Linked DNA regions of Homo sapiens: all the other regions are linked to region 1. The links are contacts of gene promoters, found by promoter capture Hi-C in blood cells and fetal thymus (Javierre and others, 2016). All regions are on one chromosome and are shown on one strand. Each heading gives the region's core, a stretch centred on a gene start or on the middle of the fragment in contact. The rest is flanking DNA. Distances are from core to core; before and after follow the strand shown. Region 1 holds the start of P2RY1 (purinergic receptor P2Y1). Region 2 has its middle 240 kb from the start of MBNL1-AS1. Region 3 has its middle 210 kb from the start of MBNL1-AS1. Region 4 overlaps MBNL1 (muscleblind like splicing regulator 1).

Region 1 (5,413 bases), core at 654-3,153:
TTTTTTAACTCACTATTTTCTTGGTTTGATTTTTTTCTAAACTAGAAAGTTAAAGAGGGGAAAAGTACTTGATTCTGTTAAGCATCCTACCATATTACAACAGAGAGGTGTTTGGAGATTCTTGTGCCTTCACAGGCTTGTATCTCCATTCTGCTTGAACTCAGGTAAAATATTGAGGGTCATGTCTTCACTCTTGGATTGCAAATTTGCCTCACTTCTTCTAGAAGCTTTCCTTGTGGCTCGGGAGAGTCTCCTTCTGAAAGTATCTCCCGCCAAGAAATAGAGAATGGGGTCCACACAACTGTTGAGACTTGCTAGACCTCTTGTCACCTGATACGTGGCATAAACCCTGTCATTGAAAGCACACATTGCTGGGGTCTGAAAATCAAGCCGGGCCCTCAAGTTCATCGTTTTCATCACATGGAAAGGGATGTAAGACACAGCAAAAACAGTCAGTACAATGATTACCAGGTAAATCGATTTTCTCCTCAGAGGAGAGTTGTCCAGATCTTTGTAAATCAAAGCTCTCACAATTAATCCGTAACAGCCCAGAATCAGCACCAAGGGGACACAGAACATGGCCACGGTCGTGCACATGCTGTAGATGAAATAACTTCGCAGGTACTCGTCTGAGGTGGTGTCGTAACAGGTGATGGTTTTGTTTTTGCGGACCCCGGTACCTGAGTAGAAGAGGATGGGGGAGATCGCCACCACCACAATGAGCCACACCAGCACGCTGATACAGATCGCATTCTTCTTTTTGAGCCGGCCCAGGGACTTGAGGGGGTACACCACACCGCTGTACCGGTGGGCACTGATGCATGTCAGAAACAAGATGCTGCCATAGAGGTTCACATGAAAGATGAACCTCTGCAGTTTACACATGGCATCCCCGAAGATCCAGTCTGTTTTATTGAAGTAGTAGAAGATCAGGGCTGGCAGAGTCAGCACGTACAAGAAGTCGGCCAGAGCCAAATTGAACATGTACACGGAGATGCCGCTCCAGGGCTTCATGTGGAAGACGAACATCCAGATGGCCACGCTGTTGCCCAGGAAGCCGATGATGAATACCAAGATGTAGACAGCCGGCAGGTAGTAAAACTGGAAGCCCGTCTTGGTCAAGGCGCATTTGAACGACGAGGAGACGGCGGCAGTGGAGGCGACCGTGCTGTTCCCCCAGGACGAACCCGGACCGGCCAGGAAGGCAGCGTCCGTCCCGTTGGGGACAGCCGGCCACAGCACCTCGGTCATTCTCTCCTCCTCGACTTAGGCGGCGGCTCCGAGGGGTAGGAGGCGGCGAGAGGGCAGCGGCGGCCAGGGGCGCAGCAAGCATCGGAAAAGCCAGCGAGCGGAAGGGAGCAGGCGAACTGGATCCCCGCGGGAGGGGGCGCGCAGGGGCTCGCCCACGCCAGCTCTGGCCCCGCGTTCGCCGCGGGCCATGAAATCCGCCCCGGGCCGCCACCGAACTGGGCTATCGGGCAAGCCAGCAACTTCTCCGTCCGCTGGCAACGCCGAGCTTACACAACAGGGCGCGCAGGGAACCGCCGCGGATAACTTTCCGACTGCGCTTTCCCGAGGGGCCGCGGGTCCGCGCTGCAGAGCGCGCCAGAGGCGCAGCGAGGTCAAGGGAAACTCGCTCTGCAGGGCTCTAGCTTGGGGAGGCTGCTCCCCAGCCTCCTTGGCTCAAAGATCAACTTAATTGGGGGCATCTTCCTCCTCCCTACCTTAGAAACGTGCAGCTCAGTTTCGGGGCGTCTAACCGCTTCCTCCGCCCACCCTGAGCTCAGCTCCTGGCAGCCATCGGAGCGCGCGTGGCCGCAGACTCGTGCGCTTCTGCAGCGCGTCCCGTTCGGCGTCCGCGTAGTTCAGGAACCCCTTCCCCAGGCCCAGCTCTGTCCGGAGTGCCGGGGTTAGGCGGGAGAGCGGAGCTCCCTAGAGGGTGGGCGGAGTTTGGGCACCGGGGCGAGTCCGCACTCCGCGGGGAGGCGAGGGGCGTGCCTCCGCCGAGCTCGCCCAGCAGCCAGCCCGCGTCCTCCAGGGCGCAGTGGGAAGCAGGAGGCGTCTTCTGGGGAGCAGGTCTCCGCCGAGGCCGAGTGTGTTCAGCCTCTGCCGGCACGCTGCTACCGGAGTCGGCGGCGAGGGAGAGGGGTGCGCTCCAAGGTGGCTGCTGGCAGGCGATTGGCCCGCGAGCGCTCCTTCCCTCTTCCGCCAGCTATCTCGGCAAAGTGAAGTTGCTGACACACAGGAAACCCTTCCGACCGCTTAGAGCCTTCTGCCTACAACCCCAGAGCCGACCAGTCCGTAGCAGGAGCCTCTAGGGCCCTCGAGAACCACGCCAGGTGTTTTCAAGCTCCAAGCAGCCAGGAGTCCCTAGCTGGGAACGCCTGTCATTGCAGAGCGTCTAGCTTTGCCGGGACCGGATTTCTGGCACATGCAGGAACCTGCTATTCCAAGAGGGCGCGAGCCTCCAAAGGAATGAGGGTTGGGAGAGGAGTGGAGAACTCTGTTTCGCCCTTCTTACCTTTTTTTTTCTTTTTTTTAAATTCTAGTACTGTTTTTTCTTAATTACCCAAATGCTAATAAACCCACGTCATTAATAACATCAACGTGAGAATTTCCAAAATAGTCTTGTGAAGATATTACTAGTCCATATTGCACATTGCTTCAGCTCAAATTTGTCGTCATAGATACTTAACACCTATCAGACAAGACAAGCTCCCCAAATCCTCCTGTTCAGTACATTTAAAGATCAGAAGCTACAATGAAAAAAAAAAATTCGAAATTTATCCCTTTGAAAGTAATTTGAATGCCAAATGCAATACATTTATATTGATAGACGTAAAAGACGGTTATAATTCCAAAGTGACTAAGGTATGGTTTTGGTAGGGGGTGGCGGGGGGAGGGGGGTATTTCCAATTCTATTTCTTTAAGTTAAAGTGATTAGTTACAATTACCTCTAGTATCTTAAAAATACAGACTTGGGACTTCCTTAATTACTACATTTACTGACAAACTCGTTTTCTTGCCTTGAATGTAAATTTTAAGCAATGCACTTCAAAAATGTATTTGAGCAAGTTTAATTGGAAACTAAATGAAATATTAGCTGTTCAGGAACATATATAAATGGACCCGCACAAGAATGGAATCTAGCACTTCTTGACAAGTTACTAGTTAATGTATTTTTACATGACACATTAACAAAAGCTTTTCTCTTAGAGGAAAAAAAATCCAAAAAGAAAATATCTGTAAAATATATAACATCAAGATTTCTTTCTGGTCCCAGATGCTACATGATAGTGTTCCCTTAAAAAATAAAGGAAAACCACGAGCTCCTGGCTTTGATACCACAAAGGAAAATATCCCCCACAAGATCCAGATGGTTCTTTAGAGGAACACATATAGGAAGGAGCATATCTTAGCACATGGTATGAATACACTGGGTTTTGAATTGTAGTCAATTGAACAGCATAAAAATTAATAATAAAACAAGAGTAAATAATTCAAGTAAACAGTGTGAATGAGGTTGTCTTGAAAAGTCTTACTTTTTGTGTTTCCTTCCAATCTCCTGATTATATGAGTCTATGATTCTGAGCCTTAACATGAAACATTTGTGTATTGTTTGATTAGTATGGTCCTAGGTGGGATGATTGTCTATTAAGAGAGAAAAGGAAGCAAAGAAAACCATTAAGGGTTCCAGGGGTACTCAATAGGTCTTAAGTCCTCACTCCTTTGCATTTTTTATTTGCAACCTAGGCAATATCTGACTTCACTCAGAAGTTTGTTGCAAATGCATTAACTCATAATGTGAGTGTTTTGAAATGTACACTTAGTCCAGATACCATTAAGTACTTGCAGAAAACTGACACCTTACTAGGAATTGGGGGATAGTTGTTTTAAGTGCACCACAGACTTTTTAAAAAATGATGTTAAAAAATAAATTTTGGGCTGGGCGCTGTGGCTCACGCCTGTAATCCCAACACTTTAGGAGGCCGAGGTGGGCAGATCACGAGGTCAGGAGATGGAGACCATCCTGGCTAACACGGTGAAACCCCCTCTGTACTAAAAATACAAAAAATTAGCCGGGTGTGGTGGCGGGCACCTGTAGTCCCAGCTACTCGGGAGGCTGAGGCAGAAGAATGGTGTGAACACAGAAGGCGGAGCTTGCAGTGAGCTGAGATCGAGCCACTGCACTCCAGCCTGGGCGACAGAGTGAGACTCCGTCTCAAAATAAATAAATAAATAAATAAATAAATAAACAAACTTTGTAAGCATTGCTTTTGCATTCAACATATTTAACTACACAGTTATGTTTCAGTTATGCTTTAAATCAAAATTTTGCCTTGTGGGAATAAGTTACATATATTCAGTAATTACTATAACTTTCTATTTGTAAAACATTCAACTATTATTAATGAAGAAAAAATCTAAGAATCATTATTCACATTTGAACATCAATTATAGATGGCTTAAAGACATGATAAAAAATTCTTACATATTTAAGTGACATCCCTAAGCATTCCATGTTAATTTTTTTTTTTTTTTTTTTGAGACGGGGTCTCACTCTGTCGCCCAGGCTGGAGTGCAGTGGCGCAATCTCGGCTCACTGCAAGCTCCACATCCCGAGTTCATGCCATTCTCCTGCCTGGCGTGGGACTACAGGCGCCCGCCATCATGCCCGACTAATTTTTTTGTATTTTCAGTAGAGACGGGGTTTTCACAGTGTTAGTTAGCCAGGATGGTCTTGATCTCCTGACCTCATGATCCGCCCGCCTCAGCCTCCCAAAGTCCTGGGATTACAGGCATGCATGAGCCACCGCGCCCGGCCTGCCATTACTTTTAATGGCAGTCTTGGACTCATAAACAAAAAGGTTGCCCTTCTTATGCCCTTATATTTAAGTAGCAGTGTAAGAACCTGACTTCAAGAGATTTACAATTTAGTTGGAAATGCAAATAATATATATAGCTAACCATAATAGTAAATATAACAATAGCAATAAAAATAGGCCTTTGCTGTACACTCAAGTACTGTGTACATGTAAAAAGGATTATCTCTTTTCACCCTTAAAATATGCATGATGATATTTGGCCATTGTATTCCCATTTTATAAGTGATGAAACTAAGGTACAGGGAGGTTAAGTAATTCACCCATAGTCACACAGTAGATACTGGGATTTAAATGTAGGCTGTTTGTCACTGAAGTCTATGCATTCAGCCACTATCCCATGATGAAAAAAAGCAAATACGGGGCACTGAGAGAAACGTTAACTTTTAGTGGCCAGCACAGATTGCGTTTAGAAAGCGTTACTCCCAGAAGCCTTCCCTCAGGAGAGAAAATTCTAAGCCAGATATTGAAGTTATTGATAGTCAAAGAGTATTTCAGAAGCTTCTAAATATTCCACTTCTCTACATAGG
Region 2 (5,604 bases), core at 1,740-4,239, 320 kb after region 1:
GCCATGTAACACTCCACTGCAAAAATAAATCTTAGGTTATTTAGCCACTCCTATTGATGGATTTTACATTTATTCTAACAATTAGCTATTATGCAAAAATATTACAAAGAATAATATTGAGCCTATATCATTTCATATATATACAAGTACATCTAGAGAGTATATTTCCAAAAGTAGAATTGCTGGGTCAAAGGCTATATGCATTTACAGTTTTGATAAATGTTGCCAAATTTTTCTTCATAGAGGTCATACTAATTCACGCTTCCCTCAGCAATGAAGAGCTCTTTCTTCCCCATAACCTCACCAAAGCAGTATGTTGTTAAACTACTTTCTCCTGTAAATCTCTCTGGCACCATCTTACACTCCAGAGAGTGGGGCAGAAGGTTTACACAAAATTGTAGATAACAAAAAGAAAAAATACTCCAGGTGAAAAAATTAATTTTAATTTAATATGATCAATTTAAATACTAGATACAGAAGAGGAGCTATAAATCACTCTTTTCAATGATTATCACTATATTGTCTCATTTATTTTCTGCTTAATATTACATTTATTTGCCCCAAATGCCTCATTTATTTACGCTTCAAAGAGTGGCAATGAAAGAGGCGATGAGGGAGAATTGTGGGGGTTTTTTAAAGTATCTTTTTCTTTTCTGATGAGTGCTCTATGCTCAAAGAGACATAAACAAATTTATTAGTCCTCAGGGGAAAACATGTAGCAGTTCCTCTCCTTTCCTATTTCCCCAAGGAGTTGGTCACAAAAAATTCATTTCTCTAGCTCGGAGCTGAAATATCTGGCTGGTGGTGTTGGTGGTCCCATGAGAGCTGTTGCAAGACATGAATAGAAGAAAAACAGTTCCTTCCCTCTTAATGTACTCACTGGTTAACCTTCTGTATGTGGTTATGCTAGTGAAACATTAAATTTATCTCTACTCTGATCTCTATACTGGCCACCATTAATACAGCAAACTATTAAAAATGTATTTGTAAATATTAGAAGGCAGAAGCATGCTGGTAGATTTTTACAACCTATTCTTCAGGGAAAAGGGCCCTCATTTTAGTGTTTGTCAACTTCTGTGATGTAAATATTCCCTATATGGCCAGTTTTAAGATACCAAAGTGATGTTACTGAATTCAGAGTTGGGAAGAGAGGTACAGTAGATACCATTATACAGGTTTCTATCACATAATATTTTCACTATACAGATACAATAGATGTACATCATGCCAACAGCACAGATAACAGTAAATTGTAGAAAAAAATTAGGAAGTGAGCTGTTCTAAGTATTTACTATCCTTTGTTTCTAACATAATTTAATTCCATATTTATAGTATTTATTTTTAAAATAATGGCTGTGTTTCATTACTGACTTACAAAATTCTTAAGAATTTCTCAATTGGTTCCTGCAAGTAGGTATAAGCTGGCTTCTCCAGCACATTGCTGAAAGGAAAATATTTTAGTCCCACAGAGAAGCAAACACCTGAAAAAGGATTAGTTTATTCGTAAACTTCCAAATAAACATAATCTCATTAATAACAATGGGAAAGATTTCTAATTCCCTCCCCAAATCCAATTTTCCCCTATGTAATTCTTTTCTGTAAATTTCCCACATAACACCAATGTATAATTTTCCCTTATTTCTTAACAACAGAAATTTGATTTCATTATGTTTAGCAATGCATTCAGCTAAAATACAATATTTCCATCTTAAAGAAAAAGGAAGGCATGTGACTGAGTTTAGGTTAATGATATTTGGGCAAAAGTTGTTGGGTAGGGTTCTAGAAACCTTTCTCTCTGTGTGTGTGTGTGTGTGTGTGTGTGTGTGCGCGTGTGCACGTGTGTGTGTATCCAGCTGGCATTCATCCCTTTGCAGAACCACCTTTCTTTTCTCTTCCTTCTTTGCACTTGTATATGAAAAATAGACTCCGGGCAGCCGTCTTGTGAGCATGAGGTGGTTCTGAGGATGTAAACTTTAACAGAAGTGTTCTGAGAGTTTGATAATATAATATAGCCAAAGTAGTCAATATACTACCAAACTTGAACAGCCTGCTTCTGGACTCCATGGTACATAAGCAAAAAGTTAATGTATTTTTAAGCCACTTATTTTTAGATCTTTCTAACTTCCAACTAAATACTATTTCTTTCTTTCTTTTTCTTTCTTTCTTTCTTTTTTTTTTTATTTTTAAGATGGAGTCTCTCTCTGTTGCTCAGGCTGGAGTGCAATGGCATGATCTTGGCTCACTGCAATCTCCACCTCTGGGTTCAAGCGATTCCATGCCTCAGTCACCCGAGTAGCTGGGACTACAGGCACCCACCACCATAACTAGCTAAATTTTTGTATTTTTGGTAGAGACAGGGTTTCACCATGTTGGCCAGGCTGGTGTCAAACTCTTGAAACTCTTGAACTCAAGGGCCTCAGCCTCCCAAAGTGCTGAGATTACAGGCGTAAGCCAACACACCCAGCCCCTAATACCATTTCTAAATGATGATACAGTTAACATTTATTGAGCATCTACCATGTGCCAGACACCATCCTAAGTAATTTTCAAGTGTTACTTCTAGAAAGATAGTGACATTCTATGCAGGTTAGACATCCTTAGTTTGTGATATTTTTATAGACTCATTTGTCCCATGAAGGATTAATTAACTTTATTCTTTATTTTTTAAGACAGGGTCTTGCTCTGTTGCTCAGTCTGGAGCACAGTGGGGCGGTCACAGCTCACTTCCACCTTGCCCTCCCAGGCTCAAGTGATCCTCTCAACCCAGCCTCTGGAGTAGCTGGGGCTACAGGTGCACACCACCATACCCAGCTAATTTTTTTGTATTTTTTGTAGAGACAGGATTTCACCATGTTGCCCAGGCTGGTCTTGAACCCCTGGGCTCAAGCAATCCACGCACCTCAGCCTCCCAAAGTGCTAGAATTAGAAGCGTGAGCCACTGCACCCAGCCTGATTAACTTTAACTGTATAAATGGTCACACCTTCCCTTCAGCAGAAAATAGATTTTCTAAGAGTTAGATGTATCCTTTCATGCTACAAGGAGTACTTACTCGATTTCTGCTCAAAAAAGTATTAACAACTCTATTTCATTTGACTTTTATGTGCTAGTCTAGTATTCAGTTCACTGTTTGCAACAACATATATCAATTCACAATAACAGGCAGTTAAATATGATTGACTATAGGAAGCACTGTTCTGATGTTCTATAGCTTTCCTATAAATATTTATTTGTGGTAATTCTGCTCCATTTCTCCATACAGTTCTAAAAATTTCTTTAAAATTATATTATTAAACTTAAAATACTCAGACATGGAATTCCTACTGGAATTGCAGACATAAGGAACTAACATTTCTAGTTCCTTCCAATAAATCTGTGACAGCACTTCAAAATATAACAGCTCATTGAAATTGGCTCCCAGGAAGAAAAGTTGATAATCAGCTAGAAGAATGAAGCCTTTGGCATGCTTGTCAATCATATCTAATCATATCTAATGTTGTATCGTGTGAAAGAAGGTAATCAATTCTGAATGGTATCTCTTAAGAAAAGCAGCTTTTATTATAATCAGGCTTTTTCTTAAATTTAACTTTTGAAAAAAATCTCAATTCCTCTTTTCTGAAATACCAAGAAGGCCCCTTTTGAATTATTTTGCCTTGTCTAACAGTTCATGCTATGGTTCATCTTTTTTGAGATCTAAAATTAAAATTGAGGGGTTTTTTTGGTTTTTGTTTGGTTTAGTTTTTTTAGTCCACAAAATGGAGCTATTAATAATTATTGTCACCTAACAACCTTCACCAAATCAGTCTTGATGTCGTCACCTTCACTCAGGACTGCCTTTCTATTTTATTTTATTTTATTTTATTTTATTTTATTTTATTTTATTTTATTTTATTTTATTTTATTATTATTTTTTGAGACTGAATCTAGCTCTGTCACCCAGGCTGGAGTGCAATGGCATGATCTTGGCTCACTGCAACCTCTGCCTCCCAGATTGAAGCAATTCTCCTGCCTCAACCTCCTGAGTAGCTGGGATTACAGGTGCCCGCCCCCACGCCCAGCTAATTTTTTTGTATTTTTAGTAGAGACGGGGTTTCACTGTGTTGGCCAGGCTGGTACCTTTCTATTTTATAGCAGTAACAAAAGTATCCTGAGCAAAGTTGGAATTCCAGAGGAAGCTGTAGACATATATTCTAAAATATATATCCCTTTTTTTCACTCTACCATGACATGTTTTTAAAGACAATCTTTTCTTCAGTTAGTTATTCATTGTGTATGATAAAGGGAAAATAATTCTGATTTACTTATGGGTTTTCTCCTTTGCATTTCTTCCTCTTTAAACTGTGAGAATTCTTGTTTGGTTTGTTTGTTTTCTGAAAACAGGGTCTCACCCTGTCACCCAAGCTGGAGTGCAGTGGTGCAGTCATGGATTATTGCAGCCTCAACCTCCTTGGCTCAAGGGATCCTCCCACCTTAGCCTCCCTAGTAGCTGAGACAACAGGCACATGCCACCATACCAGGATATATATATATATATAAAATGTGTGTGTGTGTATATATATATATAGTAGGGACAGGGTCTCACTATATTGAGCAATCTGGTCTCAAACTCTCAGCCTCAAGTTATCTTCCCACCTCGGCCTCCCAAAGTGTTGGGATTACAGGTTTAAGCTACTACACCCAGCCTGAATGTGAGAATTCTAAAGCAGTACATTGAAAAATCATATATACACAAGGATTTAAGTAATTGGCTTTGTTGTTGTTGATCAAAATTTGTTTGAAAATTCCAGGTTTGTATGAATTAACTACTTTGTAAAAGCGAGAGCTGTTGCTTTTCTGATGCCTATTCACAGGGAGGAAACGTCTGACGGGTGGGAGAAAGCTCCATGGGGTTCAGGGTTGAGTCTTCTTGTTTTTCTGTGCCTTTACACAATGTCTTATCTTGAGCCTGAGACAGAGAATAACTAATTGGTCAAGTTTGCCGAGTCCTTACTCTACACCAGGCACTGTGTTAGGCGTGTGATATGTGTACTTTCACTTCAACTTCACAGTAAACCTAAGAGTTTAGCATGGTCGTTATCCTTATTTCTCAGATGAGGAAATAGAAACTTGATCACAGCTATGGTCACAGTCCTAAATAGTAGAGCCTGAACTCAGTCAGCATTGTTTAACCCCAAGGTCTTTGAACTTAACCTTCAGTTTGCCATCATGAACACTAGTAGACATACAATGCATACTTAATGATCGCATAGTGGAGCTAAAGGCCTGTCATGAACACATCCCTTTAAAAGTCCTCTCCTTTAAAAATAAATCTCTGCTCAGCCCACTGATTACAGTTTTACTGGCCTTATGGAACCATTCTAGGCCACTGAATAGATTAGAATAAAGAAACTTATAAACTTTTCCTATTTTACAATTTAAATAAAAACAAAAAAGAACCTAGCTTATGTAATCACTTGTAAGACCATTTAAGAGATGCATAATATCATAGATCTGCTAAATTATTTTTAATCCGTGTCATATTTTTTTCATTTGGGTTCTTTGCAAAGAAAACCTCAAAAACCCTCTACAATGAACTTTCAGCCAGACAGTTTAAACTTGAAATTTAT
Region 3 (5,777 bases), core at 1,281-3,780, 350 kb after region 1:
TCCTCACTTGTAATGGTTTCATAGCTGAGCATTTACCAAGAGTGATAGGTTTGGAAGTTAGGTACTGTGCTGCTTCCTTCCGTAATCCAACTCCAAACAAGATTCTCACTGAAGAGGACAATCTAATAAATTCACTTGCTTGAGCTTTGTCTTAAATTATAAATAATTTGGATAATTCAAATATAAATTTCAAGGTGACTCCACCCTCAGATTCGAGGAGATATGGTTTTAGAAACAGCTCATCAGCCTCTCAGAGAATCCAAGTGAGTATTTTTCATAACGAAGGAGCTTAATAGGAACTAAAAAATTTTCAAGATTAAGATGAATCTGCCCTATTCAAATTTACTACAATAGTAGGTGGTGATTTAATAGGAAAAGAGTTATAAAGATCAGTTTTGGACTCATTAAATATAAAAGACAAAAAATATTACCTTGAATATAAAATATTATATATTTATGATAATATTTTTCTTCTTTATCACTCTTTATAAGTAATTTTTCAATTGATATGACTAAAATGACTAGAATTGGTTTCTTGTAAAATGTGCTCAGGGATACAAATGAATCAATGCGTCTTTATAATTAAACATTTCATTTACTTTCCTTAGAAGAAGAGAAATTAATACCAAAATAGATATGCCCTGATTTTATATATTATATAATATTATATAATATATAAAATCAGGGCATATCTATTATATATATATAATCAGGGTATATCTATTATATATATAAAATCAGGGTATACCTATCTTGGTATTAATTTATATTATTTGGTATTAATATATTTGGTACTTTTATATATATATTATATATATATATATCCTTTAACCCAAATTAATGCTTAATGACTAATCCAGCTGCATAATCTCTTCAAATGTTTATATGGCTTTAAGCCATTGTGATCAAATTTATATAAAAATAAAACAGATCAGTTATAAATCAGGTGAACCACAATTTAAAATTGATCAAGACCAATGATATTTGCCTTGAGAATTCAAGATATTCTTAAGAACTCTAGAGTCAGAAATACCTATTTTGAAGTATTGCTTAATTATTATTGGTGTATTTAGCAAGGTACTTGTTCTCTCTGTTCCTGAGTTTTTTCGTTTCCCTCATAGAGATAAAAATACCTATCTCAGTAAGTTAGTTGTGAGAATTAAAAAAAATGATTTCCATGTTGCAGTGGGGTTTTCTCTACTCCATGTCCAGGCAGATCTCCAGGCATTCTGAGCACCAGCTCAGCTAGACCAGCAGACTGAGCCACCCCATCTTTACTGTGCAGAGTTCCTAGTGCAGTGGGGTCCTCTCTGCTACATGCTCAAGGAGATTTCCAGGTATTCAGAGCACCTGCTTGCCTAGTTCAGCAGCCTGAGTTACCCCAGCCCTCCTGTCCAGAGATCTTGGTGCAGGGGTCTTCTCTCTGCTGCATGCTCAGGCAGATCTCCAGGCATATGGAGGACTCACTCTTCTGGATTGGTAGTTTACGGCATCCCTGACCTCTCTGTGCAGAGAACTTAGAGCCAAGGTGGTTTCCTAGCTCCGCATCTAGGCACGCCTCTAGGCACTTGGTGGCTTCTCATGGGATTCTCCCTTGGCACTTGTGTCTATGCCTGACATTGGACGATCTGTACATGGACCTTCCCAGTCCAGGTCTGCCCCTTGTACCCCCCTCCCCAGGGCTGAGTAGGGAGATTAGACAACCATACATTTCACAAATCATCTTATTGCCTGAAGCAACAGAGAGTTTCTGCCACTAAACAAGGATCAAGTATTTACACAGCCAAACTGGCCAGCACCAGCTCTTACCTGTAAGTGCCATCTGCAAGCTTGTAGATTGTACTCCACAATGCAATATAAAACCTGCTAAAAGAAGTGTATAGGGCTATGGAAGCAAAGCTATAATACCCTACCCAGCTTTCTCTACAGTCACAACCCCTAGGGATGGGGAAAAAGGGAAAAGGAAAGATAAAAATAATATAATAATAACATTATAGAGGAAGAACAAAAAAGAAAAAATCTTACCCACACAAAAACAATTACAAAAATTAGAAGTACCAGCATCTCCAGATGGGAAAGAAAGAGCATAAGAATTCTGGCACCATGAAGAATAAGAATGTGGTGACACGATCAAAGGATTGCTCTAGCTCTCTAGCAATGGTTCCTAACCAAAATGGAAACTCAGAAATGACAGATAAAGAATTCAAAGCATAGATTGCAAGGAAGCTCAATGACATTCAAGATCAGGTTGAAAATTAATACAAAGAAACTTCTAAAGCAATCCAGGAAATGAAGGAAGGAATAAACATCTTTAAAAAAATGAATCAGAACTTCTGGAATTAAAAAACTCAGTTAAGGCCAGGAGTGGTGGCTCATGCCTGTAATCCCAGCACTTTGGAAGGCCGAGGCAGGTGGATCACGAGGTCAGGAGATCAAGACCGTCCTGGCTAACACAGTGAAACCCTGTCTCTACTAAAAATACAAAAAAATTAGTTGGGCATGGTGGCGGGCATCTGTAGTCCCAGCTACTCGGGAGGCTGAGGCAGGAGAATGGCGTGAACCCGGGAGGCAGAGCTTGCAGTGAGCCGAGATCGCACCACTGCACTCCAGCCTGGGCAAAAAAGCGAGACTCTATCTCAAAAAAAAAAAAAAAACCCTCACTTAAGGAATTTCAAAATACCATCGACAGCCTTATCAACAGATTACACCAAGCAGAAGAAAATTTCAGAGTTAGAACATCAATCTTTTGAACTAAGTCAGACAAAAATCAAAAATAAAGAAAAAAGATTTTTAAGAAAAAAAGTCTTCAAGAATTATGGGATTACATAAAGCAACCAAATCTGTGAGTTATTGGCATTTCTGAGAGAGGAGAAAAAGTAAACAACCTGGAAAATATATTTGAAGGAATAATTCAAGAAAACTTCTTTAATCTTGCTAGAGAGGTAGATATTTAGATACAAGAAATCTAGGGAACATCTGTGAGATATCATACAAAATAATCAACACCAAGGCATATAGTCACTAGATTGTCCAAGGTAAGTGCTAAAGAAAAAAAAATTTAAAGGCAGCTAGAAAAAAAGGGCAGATTATGTACAAAAGGAACCTCATCAAGTTAAGAGCACATTTCTTAGCAGAAACCTTGCAAGCCAAGAGAGATCAGGGGCCTATTTTCAGCATTCTTAAAATAAATTTCAACAAAGAATTTCATTTTATCACACCAAACTAAGCTTCATAAGTGAAGGAGAAATAAAATATTTGCCAGACAAGCAAGTGCTAAGGGAATTTGTTACCACTAGACCAGACTTACAAGAGATCCTTAAGGAAACTCTAAACATGGAAACAAAAGATCAATACCTGCTACCACAAAAACACTTAAGTACATAGCCCACTGACTCTATAAAGCAACTACCTAATAGAAAGTACAAAGCAACCAGCTAAGAACTTCATGATAGGATCAAAACCTCACATATCAATATTAACCTTGAATATAAATGGCCCAAATGCTTCACTTAGAAGGCACAGAGTGGCAAGTTGGATAAAAAAATGCAATCCATCTATCTGCTGTCTTCAAGAGACCCATCTCACACATAATGACACCCACTGGCTCTAAGGGTTAGAGAAAGATCTACCATGCAAACAGTAAACAAAAAAGAACAATGGTTGCTATTCTTATGTCAGATACAAGAGACTTTAAATCAAAAACAGTGAAAAAAAAAAGACAAAAAATAGCATTACATAATGATAAAGGGCTCAATTCAGCAAGAAGACTTAATTATACTAAATACCTATGCACCCAACATTTGGGAAACCAGATTCATAAAACAAGTACTTCTAGACCTATGAAAAGACTTAGCCACATAACAACAGTTAGGGACTTCAACACCCCACTGAAAGTATTAGACAGATCATTAAGGCAGAAAACTAACAAAGAAATTTTAGACTTAAACTTGGTACTTGACCAATTGGACCTAAAAGACATCTACAGAATACTCCACCCATCAATCACAGAATATACATTTTTCTCATCTGCACATGGAACATATTCCAAAATTGACTACATGTTCAGCCATAAACCAAGCCTCAATAAATTTAAAAAATTGAAATCATGCCAACCATTCTCTCAGACTGCAGTGGAATAAAAATAGAAATCAATACTAAGAAGATCTCTCAAAACCACACATTTACATGGAAATTAATCAACTTGCTCCTGAATGACTTTTGGGTAAACAATAAAATCAAGGCAGAAATTTAAAAAAAAATTGGAATAAATAAAAATAGAGACACAACATACCAAAATATTTGGGATGTAGCAAAAGCAGTGTTAAAAGTTTATAGCTCTAGATGCCTACCTCAAAAAGTTAGAAAGATCTCAAATTAATGATCTAACATCATACCTAGAGGAATCAGAAAAACAAGAACAAACTAACCCCAAAGCTAGCAGAAAAAAAGAAATAACTAAAATCAGAGTGGAACTGATGAAATTGAGACCCCAAAATCAAATAATACAAATACAAAGAATCAAATACAAAGAATCAAGGAAACTAAAAGTTGGTTCTTTGGAAGGATAAACAAGATCAATAGAGCTAGGTTAACAAAGCAAAAAAGAGAGCATATCCAAATAGGCACAATCAAAAATGGCAAAAGTGACATTACAACTGACCCCACAGAAATACAAAAGATCCTCAGATCAGTGTGAGAGGATTAGGAAGAAGAAAAGAGATCCTGATAGACTATTATGAACACCTCTATGCACACAAACTAGAAAATCTAGAGGAAATGGATAAACTCTTGGAAACACACAATCTCCCAAGATTAAATCAGGAAGAAATTGGAACACTGAACAGAGCAATATCAAGTTCCAAAATTGACAGTAATTAAAAAAATAAAAACCTACCACCACAACCACCAACAAAAATCCCTAGACCAGATGGAGTCACAGTGGAATTCTACCAGACATACAAAGAAAATCTGATACTAATTCTACGAAAACTATTCCAAAACATTGAGGAGGAGGGACTCTTCCCTAGCTCATTCTATGAAGCCAGCATTACCCTGAAACCAAAACCTGGAAAAGACACAGTGAAAAAAGAAAACTACAGGCCAATATCCCTGATGAATATAGACACAAAAATCCTCAGGAAAATACTAGCAAATTGAATTCAGCAGCACACCAAAGAGTTAATTCACTATGATCAAGTGAATTCATTCCTGGGATTCAAGGTTGATTCAACATAGGCAAAGCAATAAATGTTATTCACCACATAAATAGAACTAAAAAACCACATGAATATCTAAATAGGTGCAGAAAAGGCTTTTAATAAAATTCAGCATGCCTTCATGTTAAAAACTCAGCACTGAATGAACGTACCTTAGAATAATAAAAGCCATCTATCACAGACCCACAGCCAACATCATACTGAATGGGCAAAAGCTGGAGGTATTCCCCTTGAGAACCAAAACAAGATAAGGATGCCCATTCTCATTCCTCCTATTGAACATAATACTGGAAATCCTAGCCAGAGAAATTGAACAAGAGATACAAAAGGCATCCAAGTAGGAAAAGGGGAAGTCAAACCCTCTCTCTTCACTGATGATATGATTCTAAACTTAGAAAACTCTAGGGGCTCTGCCAAAAGGCTATTATAACTGATAAACGATTTTAGCAAGGTTTCAGGATACAAAATCAATGTACAAAAGTCAGTAGCATTTCTACACACTAATAATGTCCAAGCTGAGAGTCAAATCAAGAATGCAATGCCACTTAAAATAGTTACACA
Region 4 (5,181 bases), core at 372-2,871, 370 kb after region 1:
TGAATATTTACTAAACTAGAAATCTCTGAAAAGCCAATTAAAGTCTCCTATTATCTTACCACTAAAATTACTTTCCTATGTGATTAACTCATTTTTGAAAAAATGCTTTATAAATATATAACACTGTATGATACTTTACTTATTTCCTAAGTATTGAAACATTTCCTAAGTATTGAGACCAGGATTTTGCCATTATAAAAATGCTGCAATGAACATGTTTATTCAAAAATATTTTTTCAATATTCAAGTTAATTTTTAAGGATAAAGTGAGTTAGACAGTAAGTAGGGGAGTTGTATCATTGTATTCCAGAAGAGAATGTAGTTTTTATTTAATTTTATTCTAAATTATTTTGTGGTATAAAGAGATTCGGACTAGTGAGGGAGGAGGGAAATACTAGATGAGTGTCTATACAGATGGAATTACATACTCTACATATTTTGTTTTAGTCATTACACTGTAAGGTTCTTGCCATTGATCCTTGTATCTCAGAGCCTAGCATCCTGTACAGTATATAACCAGATTCTAATATGTTTAAGTTGAAATAGTACTAATTTAAGCATTCAAAATAAACCTATGATGAAACATGTTATGGAAATATACTAGTGTCACTGAAATGTTACTAGAAGTATTATTTTGATAAATACAATAAAAATATTTAAAATACATTATTTAATGGTATCATTTTCATAATGCATTCATTCTATTACTTGATCTTGAACACAGTTAAAATATTTGAAGGGGGATTCAAAGAGTTAAGCTTAGATATGCCTAAATGGTTACTTTCATATTGGGTCTAAATGGGCTAGGTGTTGTCTGTGACCATATCAAATTGAAGTAAGAACTATACAAAATTTTCAGATTGACCATATCAAATTGAAATAAGAATTATACAAAATTTTCAGAGTTAATAAAAATGTACTTGATTCTGTTTTTGAAATAGTATAAATGAAGTAACAGCAGGTCTTGTGGTGGTGGTAAATTACAAGATAGTTTCATTGCTAAACATGAAAGATAAAATTACAGATAATATAAATGAGAGAGTGTGTGTACCTGGCTACTTTGAAAGGGATGTGTAATCGAAGAATCAGGATAAAAAGTTGAAGAATAAGTGGAGTGATTTTTAAAATTGATAAAATAGCAATCATAGTTAACATGTATCAATTACTTGCTATAAACCAAGCAACTTTCTAAGCTCTTTTTATATATTAACCCAGTTCTTTCCTCCATAGTCATTAAACCAGAATGTGTGCAGGTAGGAACCAGTTATCTGGGGGATCTTTTAAAAGTATCGATACTTTTATTGAGTTTTATTTTAAAAGTATCGAAACCCCATCTCTACTAAAAATACAAAAAATTAGCCGGGCGTGGTGGCAGGCGCCTGTAGTCCCAGCTACTCGGGAGGCTGAGGCGGGAGAATGGCGTGAACCTGGGAGGCGGAACTTGGAGTGAGCCAAGATCGCGCCACTGCACTCCAGCCGGGGCCACAGAGCAAGACTGTCTCAAAAAAAAAAAAAAAAAAAAAAAAAAAAAAAATCCCCCCGACAATTCCAGTTTGCAGCAAAGTCTGGAAACCACTCAATAATGGTGCAGTATTTATATTCTCGTACTTATTTTATTAAAGTGGAAACTGAGTCAGAGAAGTAATTTGCCAAGGTCAGGGAGCTGCGACGTGATTCCAGGTGTTCTGATTTTTGAGCCGTTCCTCGACCACTGCAATGTCTCCCCAGTGCTTTAGTGACTACTTCCTGTATGAAAGCATTCATACAGGCATTCAAAAGTATGTCTCAGTGAAATAATAGATTGCTACATCACTGACCTTTAGTATCATTTCAAAGTTTAAATTCCATGAGTACCAAGGGTATGTGATGAAGTAATAGCTCTAGCAAACGATTTTGTTCTCCAAATGAAAAACGAATGACTTCTAACAGAGTCCCATTCTGTGAGCTGAGGACTCCTAGTGGGCGTTGTAATAATAACTCTTCTGAAAATAATTTTTCAGATGCATGTATATGCTGTTGTGATTAACAAAATACAGTTTCATTTAAAGTATTGCAAAAGTTACAAGGACTTTTAGTTATGCATTTTTTCAATGAAAAGATTTCCAAAATATCACTAACTGGAAAGAGCCAGATGTCTTGATATTACTCAAAAAAGGCTGTGAACTCCTGCTTTAGACAATCATCTTCAGGGCAGCCATTCTTTTTGACAAGTGGCACCCAGAACAGTTGGACCTACTGAAAATAACAGAATTGTCCTTTAGAACTCAACCAGTAACAGAACTGTATTGATTATGAATAATGCACCTATTTTTATCACAATAAATTTTAGAAAAAAAGGCATCAACCTACAAATGAGCATTTGTAACTCTTGACCAAATACCAAGTGGCAGTCAGCATAAAGTAGAACTAAATGATACAATGTGCACGTTCTTCATGTTGAAACTTTGGCATTCACTGGCTATCTGTAGAAACTGCAAAGCTTATATGTGATGCCAGGCCCCACTTCAACAAAGTTTTTAACCCACCGTTTAAGACATTCACACACACACACACACACACACCCCTCAGGAGTAATATCATGGCCTGCCTCATAGATCATATGCATAATTTCTTTCATCCCTCTGAATACAGTGCCATCACCTCTCTTGGATTGCCTGATTTCCAGTCCTAATCAGCTGACGCAGCAGTCAGGCAAATAAGATTTCTTTAATAAAAGATAGATAGTGATCTATAATGTATAATAATTTTTTTCTTACCGTTTTTTGCCCTGACACTTAAAACTATTTCAATCAGCGCTTAAAGTGTCAGACAGGGGAAGGCAAGAATTTCAGAAAACATTGGGCACAGGAGGGCAATATATGCTGATTTAGATTCTCCCTCTCAGTGTCAAAGGATAATTAGTGAGAAAGACAACAAATGCCTTCCTCGCAGTTGCAATCAGTTAAAACCAGGTAACAAATTTATACATCAATATGTTTGTAAAGATAGATACATATGCATGAATACATGAAACACGCAAAAATAATTTAGTATTCAATCTCAGATACACGAATATACTTAAGAAAGAGAAGTTTTATTAGGGCAATTTCACTTTATTTTTCCATACAGCAAAGTCAACTACTGCAGTAATAATAAAATAAGCATAAAACAAATTGCAGCCCAAGACAAAATACATAATTTTAAGCAACTACAAGCAGAAAGTAAGTTGTGATTACATAATAGTAAAACCAAGCACATTTGTCCTTTCAGCAGATGAAAGTGGTAGGGTTGCTGATAAGTGCAACATTTTTAACCAGCTGGAGTGAAGGCTGGATACACTAATTCTTTTAAACAAGTGCCCATTATCACATTTTGCATTTTTGAGTGCTTCTGAGTTGAAAATTAAAACCATGAAATTTGAACTGCGTTTTATTTTTCACCTGCTGAAAGAACAGGATCCTACAGCAATTAAAAAACAATCACATAACAACTATAGCTACAGTGTGCTGTTTGGTTTGCCTGTTTATGATTTAAATTTTGTGAAAGTCAATACTTGTTTTGAAGATTTTTTTGTGAACAATAAACCACTGAAATTGGCAGAAACTGATCTGAATAATATATGTTCTTAGTATAGTTCTTTCTCTCTTTTTTTGTTGAAGTTTTAAACATGCAGTAGTTTTGAAAAATGTAAGGAATATCTGATCCATGATTTCACCTTAATGGTAGAAGTACCTGCTATTTTTGGTAATGATCTTCAGGCAGATTTGGCCCCATGGAGTTTTTGTCAGTCATGAGGGTTTGAAAGGATGGCGTATCTTTCCAGCTGAAAAAATCCTGGCAAACTACAAGCTGTCCACAAGAAAGCAAAGCAACATGTTTGAAGGGGTATGGAGTGCTAACTCTGTGCCACTTTTGCAAGCAATTTTGCTCAGTCTGTCATTGTATTAGCCTTAACAAAACTCCTTGTAATTATAGACGTTTTTATTCAAAATAAGATCTTACTATTATACAGGTTTCTCTCTTTTGACTATATACAGAAGTGCAAAAAGTCAACCTTCTCCCTAGACGTTCCAACATGCTAAATTGCAGCATAATCAACCCTCAAGAGTTTGCACACACGCTATAATTTTCATTACGTAAACTTTGAGTATTTGGATTATCAACAAAAAGTCCCTTGTTCTATTTATTGATTATGCAGCTTATTTATAACAAGGCCTGATACTCAGGGATTTCAAAAATATTAAACAATATTTTAACATTTGAAATGGATACAGTAGAAAATAAATTTTATTCTAATATCTAGGATCTAGATCTTCTTATAATAACTAATTACAAACAAAATAAATCATCAAAATATTACTCAATTGTCTGCCAGGATTGTTGCGATAGCAACAACTTAACTTCTTACTTAGCAATGATTATATATTTATAAGATATCCATATAAAAGATCTTTGTTCTTTTAATGAAAACTAGACAAGAACTAACAATGACTGACATTCTTACACTGTAATATTAAATCAGTAAAATATAAATCATTTAGTTAACAATACGAATATTCATGTGACACTACATGTAATTCAAAACTGAGTATGTTATGAAGGAAAAACTACTTTTTTTTGTATTTTGAAAAATTCATTGGTAAAATCTAATAAAACAAGTCTATAAACTGAAATGGTATTCAATTGTTAATAGAAAATGAAAATCTAATAAATGTAGGAAATGAAAAACTACATTTTAACAAGAAAAATAAGTAATATTCTATAATGTAACTAACTACAATAACATGTGAAGTCACCATTACTTTCTTAACACGATTGAAATTACATTGGTATGGGTTCCAACCCGTAATGTAATAATCTAAGGCTTTAATAGATGTACAGTACAATCAGTAAAATCAACACATCAGTCTTATATTAGAAAGCATCTCTCTCAAGCATAAAAACTTGCAGTAAACTTGGAAGTATGGAAAGTTCTATAACTGAACTTTCACTTCTCCCATTCCATACTATAACTACCAGTGACCTGGCCCCTACTTCAGCAATTTTTAGAACTGCTGAACAGAGCAAAAATATCCTTTACTAGCTGCAACATCCAAACCTCAAAAAAAGGAATTCCTTTGGATGATTCCATTCTTAAAAACTGAATGCACATCTATTTTTTTTTTAATTTTGTAAAAGGCTTTCTAAGGCTATAAGCAGTTA

The links. The method cuts DNA at HindIII sites, captures the fragments that hold promoters and counts their contacts. A CHiCAGO score of 5 or more calls a contact.
Region 2: a contact is called between a fragment that was not itself captured here and the fragment with the promoter of P2RY1 in region 1, in 1 of 17 cell types (megakaryocytes). The highest score is 6.3, in megakaryocytes.
Region 3: a fragment that was not itself captured here is called in contact with the fragment with the promoter of P2RY1 in region 1 in 2 of 17 cell types (megakaryocytes and M2 macrophages); the score reaches 6.0 in megakaryocytes.
Region 4: a fragment that was not itself captured here is called in contact with the fragment with the promoter of P2RY1 in region 1 in 1 of 17 cell types (megakaryocytes); the score reaches 8.8 in megakaryocytes.

What each region holds. Positions count from the first base shown.
Region 1 is chr3:152,831,621-152,837,033 of GRCh38, reverse strand. P2RY1 (purinergic receptor P2Y1) reads right to left here and starts at 1,903. Exons shown (of 1, transcript NM_002563.5): 1 at 1-1,903. The coding sequence starts at 1,251. The coding sequence ends at 130. RefSeq lists silencers at 940-1,234, 1,947-1,996 and an enhancer at 1,667-1,766. The HindIII fragment of the contact is 2,977 bases long and covers 230-3,206 here.
Region 2 is chr3:152,511,589-152,517,192 of GRCh38, reverse strand. No RefSeq gene overlaps it. Among named protein-coding and RNA genes, the nearest start is that of MBNL1-AS1, 240 kb to the right of the region's middle. The HindIII fragment of the contact is 6,585 bases long and covers 1-5,604 here.
Region 3 is chr3:152,480,390-152,486,166 of GRCh38, reverse strand. No RefSeq gene overlaps it. Among named protein-coding and RNA genes, the nearest start is that of MBNL1-AS1, 210 kb to the right of the region's middle. RefSeq lists a silencer at 1,561-1,766. The HindIII fragment of the contact is 1,398 bases long and covers 1,832-3,229 here.
Region 4 is chr3:152,463,654-152,468,834 of GRCh38, reverse strand. It overlaps MBNL1 (muscleblind like splicing regulator 1), which reads right to left. Exons shown (of 10, transcript NM_021038.5): 10 at 3,055-5,181. Among named protein-coding and RNA genes, the nearest start is that of MBNL1-AS1, 200 kb to the right of the region's middle. The HindIII fragment of the contact is 1,721 bases long and covers 761-2,481 here.